Regions from separate parts of the Homo sapiens genome. Here all the other regions are linked to region 1. Evidence: promoter capture Hi-C in 16 types of primary human blood cells and fetal thymus (Javierre and others, 2016). All regions are on one chromosome and are shown on one strand. Each heading gives the region's core, a stretch centred on a gene start or on the middle of the fragment in contact. The rest is flanking DNA. Distances are from core to core; before and after follow the strand shown. Region 1 holds the start of POMP (proteasome maturation protein). Region 2 holds the start of USP12 (ubiquitin specific peptidase 12). Region 3 holds the start of RPL21 (ribosomal protein L21). Region 4 overlaps MTIF3 (mitochondrial translational initiation factor 3). Region 5 overlaps LNX2 (ligand of numb-protein X 2).

Evidence for each region. Contacts are between HindIII fragments. The CHiCAGO score rates a contact against its expected background, and 5 or more counts as called.
Region 2: the fragment with the promoter of USP12 here is called in contact with the fragment with the promoter of POMP in region 1 in 7 of 17 cell types (total CD8 T cells, total B cells, non-activated CD4 T cells and 4 more); the score reaches 8.8 in total CD8 T cells.
Region 3: the fragment with the promoter of RPL21 here is called in contact with the fragment with the promoter of POMP in region 1 in 3 of 17 cell types (fetal thymus, naive CD4 T cells and neutrophils); the score reaches 10.1 in fetal thymus.
Region 4: a fragment that was not itself captured here is called in contact with the fragment with the promoter of POMP in region 1 in 1 of 17 cell types (naive CD8 T cells); the score reaches 5.1 in naive CD8 T cells.
Region 5: a contact is called between a fragment that was not itself captured here and the fragment with the promoter of POMP in region 1, in 2 of 17 cell types (naive CD4 T cells and naive CD8 T cells). The highest score is 5.9, in naive CD4 T cells.

What each region holds. Positions count from the first base shown.
Region 1 is chr13:28,657,562-28,660,467 of GRCh38, forward strand. POMP (proteasome maturation protein) reads left to right here and starts at 1,569. Exons shown (of 6, transcript NM_015932.6): 1 at 1,569-1,626. The coding sequence starts at 1,624. RefSeq lists an enhancer at 1,062-1,221 and a silencer at 1,442-1,501. The HindIII fragment of the contact is 5,788 bases long and covers 1-2,906 here.
Region 2 is chr13:27,170,390-27,173,295 of GRCh38, forward strand. It overlaps USP12 (ubiquitin specific peptidase 12), which reads right to left and starts at 1,422. Exons shown (of 9, transcript NM_182488.4): 1 at 1,203-1,422. The coding sequence starts at 1,250. USP12-DT (USP12 divergent transcript) reads left to right here and starts at 1,870. Exons shown (of 2, transcript NR_046548.1): 1 at 1,870-1,983. RefSeq lists enhancers at 399-508, 2,009-2,198 and silencers at 749-798, 829-898, 969-1,058, 1,119-1,168, 1,309-1,948. The HindIII fragment of the contact is 5,306 bases long and covers 1-2,478 here.
Region 3 is chr13:27,250,118-27,253,023 of GRCh38, forward strand. RPL21 (ribosomal protein L21) reads left to right here and starts at 1,441. Exons shown (of 6, transcript NM_000982.4): 1 at 1,441-1,468. RefSeq lists enhancers at 745-1,944, 763-1,348, 1,156-1,695, 1,349-1,934. The HindIII fragment of the contact is 8,409 bases long and covers 1-2,906 here.
Region 4 is chr13:27,445,040-27,447,945 of GRCh38, forward strand. MTIF3 (mitochondrial translational initiation factor 3) reads right to left here. Exons shown (of 5, transcript NM_152912.5): 2 at 49-117. Among named protein-coding and RNA genes, the nearest start is that of MTIF3, 4.1 kb to the right of the region's middle. The HindIII fragment of the contact is 4,271 bases long and covers 1-2,906 here.
Region 5 is chr13:27,617,036-27,619,941 of GRCh38, forward strand. All of the region lies in intron 1 of LNX2 (ligand of numb-protein X 2), which reads right to left. Among named protein-coding and RNA genes, the nearest start is that of LNX2, 2.0 kb to the right of the region's middle. The HindIII fragment of the contact is 1,587 bases long and covers 636-2,222 here.

The DNA of each region.
Region 1 (2,906 bases), core at 319-2,818:
AATGTTCAATACATATTCATTGAACTGTGAGCAATCAGCAAATGTTAAAATGATTTTTAAGAAAAGATTCGCAGTTTTACAATTTCTCAGGTGGAATTGACGGAAAGAAAAAAAGATGCAAACGAAACACTCCAACTCAAATCTCAGGATTAAACATGGCTATTGTGAAGGACCAGAAGACACCTAAAGGACAGCATGGCAGAACACATAACATCTGGAACTTCAAAGTTGTATGACCATGGCAGTGGATATACATAACATATATGGCCTTATCATTTTCCTCTCTCAAATCCTTCGATGGCTTTTTAAAGACAAAGCCTCATCCTTAATCTTGCCTACAAAGGCTGCATAAAAAACCTGTAGCTAGGTCCCATGATGCACGCCTGTAGTTCCCATTACTCAGCCGGCTGCAGCAGGAGAATCGCTTGAGCCCAGGAGTTCAACGCAGACCTGGGCAACATAGCTAAACCCTATCATTATTTAGAACAAACAAACAAAAACAACAACAAAAACCACTTGCCTCCATCTACTTACAACCTCATCTCACAGTACTCTCCACTTTACTTTCTGAACTTTAGCCAGACTTAGGCCTTCTTTCCAGTTCCGTTTTTGCACAAGCAGATCTGCACGTAATGTTGTTTTAAATATCCTACTACCCCAAACTAGTTCGCTCTTATCTTTTAGCTGTCAGTCCAAAGATTCCCTAAGATGTCTCCATCCTGTGGCAGCAGACTATAAGGCCGTTTTATTACATTATATTTGAACAATACAGAATAGTGTAATGAGCATGGATTCTAGACTCATAAATATGTCCTTAGGCATATTTATTTAAGCCCTTCATGTCTCGGTTTCTTCACCTGTAAATTGTACTTGTAAGGTTATTGAAAAGATTAAAAGAGATAAAGGATGTAAGCACTTAGAACTGTGTTGATAACGCAATTCAAAGGGCCCAACATATGTCGGTCATGATCACATTTACTTAATTTGTAGTCACTATCGTCCCCTCTCTCCCCTCTAGCCTCCGGAGTACCCCTGCTCCTCTAGCCCAGAGGCCACACCGGCCTGGTCCTTTTTTGTATTCCTAGCCTCAGCACAGGGTTCGGAACATACCAGGCCTTCAATATTATGTTTTTTAAAAATGACAAAAGCCTTGTGTCCCAATTTTGCTTTATTAGCCGAACGATCTCAAGCAAATCACTCAAACCACCTACGCCTCGTTTACCCTTCTGTGAAATGTAATAGCTACCTCAGAGAGGTTTTGTGTTAAATAAGGCGATGTACCTACAAAAGCACACTGCACATCTTAAAATGCCGTACAAACCGTAGATGTTTATTAATAAACCGGAGTCCGTGTCTTCCCTCCCCTCAGGCACGTCTCGTCCCGACCCCTCCCTCCTCCCAGCCCACACCCTTACTGCGCCCTTGGCCCTGGGTCCCTTGGGATTGCAAGCGTGGGAGCCTCGGCCCCGCGCAGCTCCCTCCGGCGTCCCGCGCCCTCCTTCCTTCCTCGCCAGGACGGACGCACTTCCGGCGGATGTGGGGGCCAGCCCTCGGAAACGGAAGTGAGCGGCGGGGTCGACTGACGGTAACGGGGCAGAGAGGCTGTTCGCAGAGCTGCGGAAGATGGTGAGTGGGTACCCGGGCGGCTGGAGTTCCACGCGGGCTCGGGACCGTGGCTCGGCAGAAACAGGCAGTCGCCTCCCAACCCGTCCCCGGTGGCGGCGGCGGCGGCAGCGTGGGGCTGAGGCCGGCCTCAGGCGCCATAATCTGTCGAGTCACGGGGTTTGGGTGGGTCGTGACTGTCGCCGGGGCCCGGCACTAGTCCCACTAGCAGTGCTTCGGCTTCATCCTGCTCCTCTTAGCTCGGTTTGCGCCCTTCCATCCCTTAGACCCCAGCAGGCCCAGACCTCCTCCCCTTACTTGGCGCAGAAGTGGAAAAGGCAGCCGTGAAAGTGCAACGTTCTGTGGGGTGGCGCTGGCGACCCTTTCCTTGACGGGTAACCTCTGGGAGCCCAGAGCTCTCAGACTCCTCATCTCCCCCAGCCCCCGCCCTTGTAACTGCCTAGTAAACAGCCCACAACTATAGGTCGCATTTGTGTAACGCAGCTTTGCTCTACAAACTTTTTTGAGAGCTTGTAGTGTGCTAGATGTTAGAGGGGAAAAAATCAGACAGTTGCTATTCCCTGTTTGCCAGTATTGTTAGTATATCTCCTCCCTCCTTCTCCTCCCCACCACTTTCTCTTTCTTTTTAACTTAGAAGTTGTGGTATTTGAGAAGAACACTGAGTCACCATTGCCACAGACTCTGATATCGGTACTGCTGGTAGGCCATCCATCCAAATCTAGAAAGTTTCTATTGGTAAATACTGCTAATCGTTATCTAAAAAGTTTTTTAGGCACTCTCAAATGTAACTAGTAGTTAGGTTTTCGTAGATTTGCCTTTCTCGGCTCCTTCCTTTATTAGAAACAGCAAGTACTAATCTTGATATTTTACAGAAGGAAATTGGGAAAAATGACAATAACAGAATCCAGAAGTCAGAATTCACCTTTTCTTTGTGCGTTGAAACCTTGTTACTTTACAATAAAGCAGTCCAGAAGGAGGAGAATGTTCATATAGGGAAGTAATAGAAGATACATTTGGAAAGCAACAATCACACATCTCTGCTGAAGGTCCCCAACTTCTGGTGGTTCAACAATCTTCTGACTTTATGATGGTGTGAAATCCATACACAGTCAGTAGAGGCCATATTTGAGTACCAATACAGCCATTCTGTTTTTCACTTTCAGTACAGTATTCAATAAATTACATGAGATACCCAGTACTTTTTAATAAAGTAGGCTTTGTATTAGATGATTTTGGCCGACTGTAGGCTAGTGTAAGTGTTCTGAGCACATTTAAGGTAGGCT
Region 2 (2,906 bases), core at 172-2,671, 1.5 Mb before region 1:
ATATGAAATCAGTTGCATAAATAGGGCCAGTGAGGCATGAAACACAAGATTTCAGAAGTCTCTAATAACAACCACTAGGCCCACGTTGCAAAGAACAACTTTTTTCGGTGATGACTCATAAATTATGATCCCTACATATAAGCTCATGAGGAACTAATGAAACGAATTTGTCTCATCATGTGGAAAACTGTGGTCCTTCTGGCCACGCACAAAACACCAAGTTTTAAACGCGCCCACGTTTTGCTTAATTCGGGACTTCCAGCGGGCATTAGCACTTTTCCCTTACAGTCTATTTAAACGCCCTAGGAAAACAAATACCATCGCCTTGGCAGGCGGTCCCCGCACAGACAGACCTAGCTCCAGCCACATACAGATGTGTCTGGTGGGCTGAAGTAAACAAATGACAGGAAAGCTAATGCTGCTTTTCAAGATTAACGTGCATTCCCAGAGACAAGACTGCCACCTGGACACACGGCTGGAAACGGGAGAGCTCGTGCCTCTCAGAGGAGAAAATGGAGAGAATTTCAACAGTACTTATTTAAAGTTTCCACCTTCACACACGCCCCTTTCCCCCAGCGCGGGGTCGGGGACTCGGCCCAGCCAGCGGCGCGAGGAAATCTGCACTTGACTTCCGTCCTCTCCCAGGCGGGAATGAGCGCTGCCCGCCCCGGCCGAGACCCTTCCTTCCTGCCCGCCGACCCCCACCCCTCCCGGGGACCCCTCCCGCTCGGCGCGCGACCAGAAGGAAATGGAGCCCGCGCGGCTCCGCGCCCCCTCCCCGACGACCCCGGCCCGGGGCCGCGCTCTGGCTCGCGCGCGCCCACCCCTCACCCCGGCACAGGCCGGGCGCGCCTCGGCCCTCGTCCCCGCGTCCCGAGCGGACCCCAGCAGTTCAGCCGGGGACTCCCGGAGGCCGGTGCCCGCCCGACGCCGCGTCTGGCACGGTCGCCCACTCACCGCTACCCTCGCGCCGCCCTGGCCCACCAGGCGGCGCCCCCTCCCCAGCCGCCTGGGCCGCTCACCCCCGCGCTCCCCGCCTGCGCGCCGTCCAACCGCCCCCGCCCGGGCCGCCCGGGCCGCCCAGCCCGCCCGCCCGCCCCGGCGCTAGGCCCCGCGAGCGGCCACTGGGAGAGGCGGGTCCAGCGCCGCCCGCCCGCCCGAGAGGTCCCGGCAGCCCCGGCCGCCCGCTCGCCGCCACCTACCATGGTACAGATGGAGGCGAATTTGGAGACTGTCATTAGGATTTCCATCCGGCCAGCGCCATCTTCCACCCAATCACAGCGGCGGCGGCGGGCGGGGGAGGAGGGGAGCCGGGCCGCCCGCTCGCACCGCAGCCCGCGGGCGGACCCCGAGCCGCCGCGGACCCAACCACCGAGCCCGCTGGGCCGCCGCTGCCGTCGTCGCCGCCGGCGCTCAGGCACTCCCGGCCTCGGGCCCCAGCCCCCGCCTGCCGGCCGCCGGCCCGCCCCCGGCTCCGCCCCGGCGCAGGGCGCAGCCGCTGCCTCCGGGCCCGCGCCTGCACGCGAAGCCGCCCTCCGCCCACCCCGCCCAGCGCACAGGGGAGCGGGCTCCGCCGAGGCCCTAATGCCCGGCCTGCCAGGCAGCGGCGCGGCCAGGCGGCGCAGCCCCGCCCACCCCTCGGCAACCCCTCCGCGGCCCTTGTGCGCGAGCCGGGGAACTCCGGTCCGTCCCCACCCCGCGCGCGGCAGAGGGCAGGACCGAAGGCGGGCGCCACCTCCTGCCCGCGTCCCTGCGGTCCTAGAGCCGGGGACCCAGAGACCCCCGCGTAGGAAGGGGTGCGGCGGGGAGGCGCGGGGGTGGCGGCGGCGATCTGGGAGAACCCTGGAGGGGACCAGCTGCGACACCCACCGCGGGCGAGGGGACGGCGAGCCCCCGCTGCCTAAACAGAAAACGGAGGCGATGATCTGGGTAACTACGGGCGGAGTGGGAGGAAACCTGCTCTGCACAGTTAAGATAACCCGGGTATGCGTCCCAAGCACTTGGTTTGTTTCTTTTTACGTATATTGGATGAATCACCGGAGTCAAACACAACTTAGAAAAAGACAAAATAATTAAACAAAAATGAAGAGGCAAAGAACAAATTACACATGTTTAACTCTTTGAATTAAGAAGAAAGATAAGTAATGGGGGAAGGAGAGGAGCGAAACCTGTTGGCCTGTTGGCGATAAATTTATAATAGGCTTCTAAATATCTGCACATTGAGCTGCAAAATAGGGAGGATCTCAAGCCAGCAGTGATGATGATATTACCAGAGACAGGAAGCCCGCAAGCAAGAAAAATGCCCTGTGAGAAATCCTTAGGCAGTGCTGGCTACTGGCATGGGTAGTTCCTCTTTCTCCTTTTATAAAATTCATATTTGCACCCTGTTCTTCATGCCTGGCAGCTCAGCTTTATTTTTTCCTATTTGAGAAAGTAGTTCAAGTGAGTAGAATAACTTCATAAATTATTATGTTAGAAAGCTTGTGATATTTTCTGATTGAACTCGTGATGGGGTACTTTTCTGGGTTCCCCTAATTCAGTGGGGTTGAGGATCTGAATTCAGGCAGAGCTGTAAAATCAGAAATGCCTCACCTCAAGGGTTCAAAGCACTCAAAAACAAAAAGCATTCAAACAAAATTTAAGTGAAAAATAGACTTCTGGTACATGAATACTGTTTCCATAGTGATTCCATTATAAGCTTGCTTGGGGGGGGAATGCAGATTGAATATAGCCAAGCCCCATGGTAGCCGGACTGGATCTCCAAGCGCCTGCCTCCATGGAAGCCAAGAGCCCTGATACCCCAGCCAGGGGCTTTCCTCTCTATACTTGCAAGCATCACCCACCTGAATTCTTTCTTGCTCTTTTCTACCCCCTGTTTGGACAAGGGTTTCTACATCTTAGACCTC
Region 3 (2,906 bases), core at 191-2,690, 1.4 Mb before region 1:
AAAATGCATCCTAAAAATACATACAATCATGAGAAAAACATGAGACAAATTCCATGATTAGGACATCCTACAAAATACATGACCAGTACTCCTCAAAACTCTCAAGGTCACCAAAAGTAAGGAAAGTTTGAGAAACTGCCACAGCCACAAGAGGCATATAAGGAGACATCATAACTAAATGTAATGTGGTATTCTGGATGGAATCCTGGAACAGAAAAAGGGTATTAGGTAAAACCGAAGGAAATCTGAATAAAATGTGAACCTTAGTTAATAACAGTGTAAAATATTGGTTCATTAATTGCAACAAATGTACCATATTAGCATGAGATGTTAATAATAGGGGAAACTGGATGCTGGGTATATGGCATTATCTCAATTTAAATAAACTACATTAAGAAAATAATATCTATTTTTAAAGGTGTAGTGAATAAAACAATGGCCACCCATATATTTAACACCCGGTTTAATAATGGTCAATACAGTTAAAGCCTCCCTTTATTGTCCCCTCCTTACCAGATATGACTGCTTTTCTCAACTTGATTTTCATTCTCTTGTATTTCTTGACTTCTTTAACTACATATGTATGCATAACTAAGCAATATATAGCATTGTTTTACAAGTTTTAGAGTTGAATGTATATGAATTGTCATACTATTTATTTTTCTACATCTTTCTCTTTTTGCCTCATCACATTTCTGAGTTCAGTCTTCTTTTATTGGCGTATAATACTACATCCTAACATCCCATAAGGTATTTATTCTGTTATTGATGGACGTTTCTAATTTTTTGCTTCTACCCACAGCGCTGTTACGTACATCCTTGTTCACTTACCAAAGTTTCTACAAGACATATAGGTAGGAGCAGAGTGCTGGGGTTTAGTAATTGAAAACTTTTACTAGATTTTGCCACATTGCTTTCCCAAAGAGGTTTTAACATTTGCGCACCTACTAGCAGGTGCGTATGTTTAGACGTGTGGAGGAGAAACTATTTAAAGACATACAAACTAGATAATATACTTGCTTCATTCTCGTTTGACCTTCGTACCCAAGCAATTATTTCTGCAAACAAACAAATAAACAACTACTAATAGCACTTCCCGCACCGCCAGCCGCAGTTTTCCCTGCGGAGACGCGGATACAAGGCAGCTTCCGGCGAAGGCGGTGACGCAAAGGATGGCGTAAGCACGCTCGGGACGACGGCGTCCTCTTGATCGCCCTTGAAGGCCCCTTTCCGGGCTGTCTGACACGATGCAAGTGTCAGCTTGTGTTGGCCGGTTGCCTTTCTTTCGCAAGAGGGGAAAATATCCTCACAGACTTTCTGTGTTCTCAGAGACGATCTTCTTCCCTAGAAAGAAGTCGCTTACGGTTGGCGTTTCCCTCAGGCAGCGCCGTGGGCAGCCCACAGGCCCTTGTAAGGCGCGCGCCGCGGCCCCGCCTCTTTCCTTTCGGCCGGAACCGCCATCTTCCAGGTAGGGCCTACGCGTGGCTCCCGGGCGCTAGGTGTTCGACAGACTTGAACCGCGACCTTGTGGCCTCAGAGGTCGTTCATTGGGACCGTGGGGAGACTCTCTAACCTGTTTGAGGTCCATTGGCATGGGCGGGTTAAACCATGTTCTGCCAGACGGGGAGCAGCGTGCGCCGGGTCGGGTCTGGGCCGTGGGCTGAGAACCGGACTGCGATGTTGCGGCCCTGCGGGGGGACATTTGCGAGAAAGACGAGACTGAGTCGCTTGGGGTGAGGCGACTCGAGTTAATCTTTAAAAGACTTCGTTTTATGTTCCCGTGGCTGCATCTCCGGTACTGTGGGTGGCCCCTCTCACATAGGCTGTGTGGGGGCCGCGTGGCCTGATGCCTTTCTAACTCCTTTCAGTGTGGCTTTTTTATTCCAAATCTTGCGATGATGTTGGGTGAGGACTTAAGGGGTAGTAGGAATGGGTTTAAAGTCAGGCGTCGGCTTTAATCTTCTGTGAAGCCTACAGGTGTGAAAACCCGGGCTCTCGGTCGGAGAGTGGGTCCCGGAGTCGTCCTGGGTGATGAACCCTCACTGCCCTTAGTTAATGCATAAGACGATTTCCGACTGTTTTTAAAATTTTGACCCCACATGGTGATCGGACGAAGGGAAAGTGTTTTGAGGTTGCAACACCAATATTTGCACCAAGAGGAGATACTGTTTTGCGAATTCTAGGGCAGCATGCTTTGAGTGAAGGGAAACATTTAGCCATAGTTCATCATTTTGTCTAGTTTGTGGACGTCAACAGAGTCGAGCAAACTGCAGGTTGCTCTTTATGGTGGATCCTAGTTGCCATGATTTTAATACTCTTACAAACTGTAAAGCATCGTTTTGAAAAGTGCCTTCAGTTTTAAGTGTATGGGGTCCATGCTTAAAATGGATTCCAAACTCAGAAAGATGGATCTAGTGGAGGATTATGGGCTCTGGAATCAGGAATGAGTTAACTGATTATGCCACTTGGTGATTCCACAAAGTGACTTGAATCTACACAGTATCACCCTTTGTGTACTAACTTAGCACAAGTTTTTGGAACTTTATACACATCTAAAGGCTTTGGGGATTGGAACAGAGTACCTGGCATTTAAAGGGTTCATCCATTGTAACAATGGTTTGACTTTGGTGAGTTAGGTGAAACATGTCTTCTTGCTATACAATTTTTATAAAAATGGTACTTTGGGAGCCATTCTTAAAGGATTGTTGGTAAACTTAGAAACCAAATTGTGTTAGAATATTGTCAACACGTCAAGCCTGACTGCTGTATTTTACCTTATGGTAGGAGTAATGGCCAGGAATGGCATTTCTGCCCTATAATGACTAAAGAGCTATCAAAACTATTGTTTTGGCCTTTTTGGGAAACAAAGGAAAGGTTAATTTCTAAATGCCTGTAGGTGAATTCTT
Region 4 (2,906 bases), core at 283-2,782, 1.2 Mb before region 1:
ACTTTGAAAATTGCTAATTAAATAAAAAGAACTGAGCATTTATCCTACCTTTTTTAGGAAGAACTGTAATCATCCCCAGTTGATGAGGAGAAGCTCTTCTGTAGAGAAGAATGACAGCTAATAAACACAAAAGAAAAGTAAAAGTAATTAGAAAATCATGCCACGCACGATGTCTCACACCTGTAATCCCAGCACTTTGGGAGGCCAAGGCGAGAGGATCACTTAAGGCCAGGAGTTTGAGACCAGCCCGGGACACACAGCAAGACCCAGTCTCTACAAAAAATAAATTAGCCAGGTGTGTTGACACGCAACTGTACTCCCAGCTACTGGGGAGGCTGAGGAAGGAGGTTCACTTGAGCCCAGGAGGTTGAGGCTGCAGTGAGCTCTGATCACACCACTGCACTCCAGTCTGGACAACAGAGCAAGACCCTGTTTCAAAAAAAAAAAAAGAAAATCACCATTTTTCCAACCCCAACGAAACTACTGATTCAGGCAGGATGCAAGAGAGCTGATGCCAAAGGGTCACAAACAGATTACTTTCAGACTGAGAGGGAAAAGCACACTCTGCTGAGGGTAGACAGCTGTCTGTCATCCTAAGCCAACGTCAGACTCAGCATCTCCAACAGTGGAACAACCTGCCATCCTTGCCACATCTCTGGATGGGAAGCTACCCAAAGTGCATGGCACCTTCTATTAAGCAGCTTTGCCAAAAAGGTTTGACCTGAACCTGATGCAGGGTCTAGCTTCCAGTTTCCAGGGGATACAAGGGCCAGACTCAGAGAAACAATAGAAGATGCCACAAGGAAACAATCTGACAAATCCAGATGGAACAAGACACCTGGTTAGTGTCTAAAAAAGCCAATGCCATTGGGAATGAAAAGGGAAGAGGGAAGCTATTCTTGAGTGAAAAAAAAAATCAAGGAGACATAATTTTGCTGAAAAGAAATGTTGGGAATGAGGGGAAAATCTGAATAGGGACTAGGTATTAGATACTATTAGAGACGTATTGTTAATTTTCTTTTTTCTTTTTTTTTTGAGACAGGTTCTCACTCTGTCACCCAGACTGGAGTGCAGTGGGGCAATCTCGGCTCACTGCAACCTCCGCCTCCCAGGTTCAAGTGATTCTCCTGCTTCAGCCTCCCAAGTAGCCGGGATTACAGGTGTGCACCACTACCGCCTGGCTAATTTTTGTATTTTTAGTAGAGATGGGGTTTTACCATGTTGGCCAGGCTGGTCTCGATCTCCTGACCTCAAATGATCCACCTGCCTTGGCCTCCTGAAGTGTTGGGATTACGGGCGTGAGCCACGGCACCCGCCTGTTAATTTTCTTAGGTGTGAAAATGGAATTCTTAAGAAACAAATGCTGAAGTATTTAGGATAGTGTCATGACATCTATCACTTGCTTTGAAACCATACAGCAGAAAATATAAACAATGCACTTACGGCAGCATTTGCTAAATCTAGGTTATGGTTATACGGGTGTTCAATAATTAATACATTTTTAAAGAACAAATCAATAGCCTAGAGGGAGGAATGGTTCACTGGTAATGCCAATGTAACTATTCTAGTCTGTGTAAGTTCTAAATTTCACTGTAATTTAATACATTGACATTCTGGCTTTGTACATAATTTTAAAAAATATTCCCTTTATTCGTTTCAAGCCTATATCTAAGTGACCCATAAATAAGGAACTTTATAAACTTAAAATTCTGATTTTTTTGTAATGCATAGTGCCTTTATTTCTTCATTTAGTTTTCCTTAAACTCAGGTCTAAAAGTCTCATCATAAATGGTGATGGGGGCGGATGGGAAGGAGGCTGGCATAAAAAAAGTACACATTAGGTACAATGTATACGATTCGGGTGATGGTGCACTAAAATCTCAGAATTCACCACTATATAATTCGTCCATGTAATGAAAAACCACTTGCAGTCCAAAAGCTACTGAAATAAAAATTTTAGAAGAATAAAACAAATGGTGATGGTTTCAGTTTGAGGCAGAACTTGTACAATTTTTTGCTAGTGAACGGTTAAAAGTTAACTGGTCTACAATGGGGTGGTGTTTCTCAGAAACCACGGCCTGTCGGCATCACCTGGGGATGCTTTTCAAAACACAGATGTTTCCTCTTCCCTATCCTGTTCAGAACCAGTGGGTTAGGCCAAAAAAAAAAAAAAAAAGATGAACTTTAAGAAAAAGAGTAAGAAAACACTATAAGTGGGGTCAAGGGTAGTTTGAGCTAGGATGCCTGAGACTACCCCTAACCTTTCAAAGTTGAATAAAAATAGGAAGCCATGTTCTCTGATGAAAATCTCTGATGCCTCTGTGAGGTAAACAACACTAGGCTGAAGAGGCCAGGAGACTAACTCAAAATAGAAACAAACGCTTACGTTCTTATGATAATCCTGTTGCATTTGCTGCACTCACTCCCACAACTATACTCTCCGAGACAGCCACAATATTCTAAAAACCAATTATCTTAATGTCAATTACTTATAATGCATAACTTTATAGTATGATATCCATTTTTAATTCGATGATTACTCAGACTTTATCTGAGTTTTGACAAGTGCATATACCTTTGTAACCAAAACTCCTATCGACAGAACATCACCATTATCCCAGGAAGTTCCCTCTTGCCATTTCCAAGTCAATCTCCATCCCCAAGAGGCAACTATTGTTCTGATTTTTTCCCATCAGTCTGTCCTAAGACTTCATATAAATGGAACCAAACAATATCTACTCTTTGTTGTAAGACATCTCAGCATGTTTCGAGATTCATTCACGTTGTACGGATCATTACCTTGTTCCTTTTTATTTCTAAGAAGTGTCCTCCAAGTATATGAATATATCGCAGTTTTTAAATCTAGTTTTCGTTAATGAACACCTAGGCTGTTCCCTTTATTTATT
Region 5 (2,906 bases), core at 179-2,678, 1.0 Mb before region 1:
CTGCACCTGGCCAAAAAATTCCTCTTAATAACTTCTTAGAAGGCTAATACACAAAATAGCCACCTTTTCTGAATCCAACCAAACAAAATAACTTATTAACCACAGATTTTCCTACTGCTTTGTATTTTCTGAGGAAAAGAAACAGGTGCCAGGAAAGCTAAAAGGGATGTCTTTTGTAAGACTCTCAGGCCCTCCTACAGGGTCAATTTAGGTAGGCCTGCCCCAGTCTTCTAATTCTACATGCAAGATACATATGTATTACTTTTTCAAACAACACTGCTTCCTAAATAGAGGAGAACCTATGAAATGAGACCTGTGATTCTTTTTTAAAAACCTAGATGCATTTGGATAGAGGAAGGTGGGCCTGTGAACTCTAGCCCTGTAAGCAGGAAGGAAAGTTAAATAGTTCCTCATAATACAATTTAAAGATATCGGGTGGCAATTGTAAAGGAAAGAAAGAAGAGGGGAAGAAGGCCAAAGAGCCAACCAGATTACAAGAGCCTGGAGTCCTCCTTTCTTTGATGGTGGCCAAAATATATTTTAAGGATAGAAATGCCTAATATTCAATGTCAACACTTCTGATATCGCTCCACTGTGAACCCCTTCACCCTCCCCTTCCTCTAAATCTCTCATAAAGCTTACCATACTCATAAAGCCTTTCTGTGAACTCTTTTTCTTTTCTATTCTTTCCTAGCTCCTGTGAGACACAACTATCCAACAACTGCATCATGGATCTCTCAACCATCCATTTAGCACCTCCTTAGATTAGTCCAAAACTGAACTTATCTTCCCTTCTACACCTCTACCATCAATTGTTTTTAACTGCTCCTTCTCATATCCTCCAACATTCCACTAGCTCATTAATGTCATCATCTAAAGGAACAACTAATATTTACTGAGCACTTGGAATGTGCTAGGTACCCTGCCAAAGGCATTACATGCATAATTCCTCAAACCCTACTCAACAGGTACGACAATCATTTCCCAAATGTTAGGAAATCAAAGTTCTGTCAGGATAGTTATTCTAAGGGTAAGTAATAGAATTAGAATTTGACCCGTTTTAATTTCACAGCCAGCTTACCCAGTACATGTCAATCAATGCCTGAAGTCAAACAACCCAGGATTCATCCTTCCCTCCTTAAGCCTACCCAGTCACTTACCTAGTCCAGCCTCCTAGTCATACCTCTTAAACACCACGTCATTTCTCCTTCCACTGCCAGCACACTAGCATTTACTAAGTCCTTACTATCTGGCAATCACTATTCTAAGTAATAGACATGTTTTTTCAAGTTCTATCCCCCAAACTCTGAGATGACAAACCTAAGGAACAAAGAGGTTTCAGTGTATGACAGAGCCTGATTCCACCCCAGGTAATCTGAATAGAGAATCCCTGAGCACTTAACCCCTCCATTAGAACAGCCTCCAACTTAGTCTCCATATCGCCCATCTGGAAGCCCACCATCCTCCAGACGCTGCAGATATCTTTCTGGAATGCTTACCCGTTATCATGACATTCTCCTGCTTAAAATTAGCAGCTCAGTATCACTGACTGGATAAAGTCCAAATTTCTTAATCTGGTATAAAAAATCCTTCATTTTTCTGTTCAAGTCAATTCAGTAAATATTTTAGTGCCCAATGTAAGCAAGAAAAGGTGCCAAGTGTTCTGAAATGAATAATACATGTCCCTGACTACTACCTCCACCTCGGACACTGGGTCCTTCGGCCAGACAAGCCCATATGCAAAGCTCGTAATACAACAGCCCAAAGACACATACATTTATTTTTAAGTGGCCTGCGTGCTACGTGCCTACAATGTACGAAATCCCAAACCAATCTGAAGACTAAGTGCCTACGTAACACCTATTCTTACAGGTCTCCAGGCAGAAATGCTCCCTAAGTTCAAATTACTTCAGGGTAACTAGTGGGATAAAGGCATGGATCAGTTTCCAAATGAGAAAACTGGGCAAGAAGCAACCCCCGCCATCAATGGCTGGCATGCAGTAGGTACTTTATCAGTGGCTAAATGAATAAATAATGAAAAAATTTCAAAGTTGATGAGAGAAACAAGATATATGGAGAATGTAACACACAAGTGGGCCGAATTAAAAGTGATGTTATTCTACTTTGGTTCTCATTTGGCCTACTTTTACCCCATGGGAAAACTCACATGTGGGACTCGGACAAGCTAAAAAGCCAAAACTTTGTTATTCATGGCTCAACAAAGCTTTGACAAGCCAAAAAGGATACCAGATTCCCGCTTCCTTCTTTACCTGCCAAAGTCCATTTTCTAAAGAGGTGTGGGGGTGGGAATCAAATCTAGCAAAGTAAATAAAATTGATCTACTGAGATCCAACTTCATTAGTGCTGCATCGAAGTACATGCAAAAGAAATATCAAAACCTGTCCTGGGAAGAAGGCCAATTTACAAGTAAGTACTATTGCCGCAAGAATGTGAAATTCTTAAAGGCAGTTCCAATAAGCTGGAGCTCACAAGTGTTCCTCCTCCTGCACCGCCACCGCTTTTCACTCAACTTTGTTTCTGATTTCTGTGATTTTAAAAAGCATAATATACACAGCAAAGCCCATGCATAAGTGTACTTTAGCTCCTGGTACAAACGAACGTCTGGATTCATAAACTTAACGTAAACTGAAATACTAAAAGAAACACTACATGAGTCAAAAGTCCTTGTTTAAAACGTGGCATACAGCTTTGAAAAGCGAGTGATGTATTTCCTGAATGATGCTTTGTGTGCAACTGCTTCCAAATCAAGATTCATATTTTTAAATTACCCCCTGGAAGATGTCAAATCTCTCTCCCACCCTCTCCAGCCTAAAGAGAAAGGTGAGAATTCACAGGCAACAGGCTGGGGCGGAGGGAATGATCTCTCCCCATCCCTTTCCAGAGAA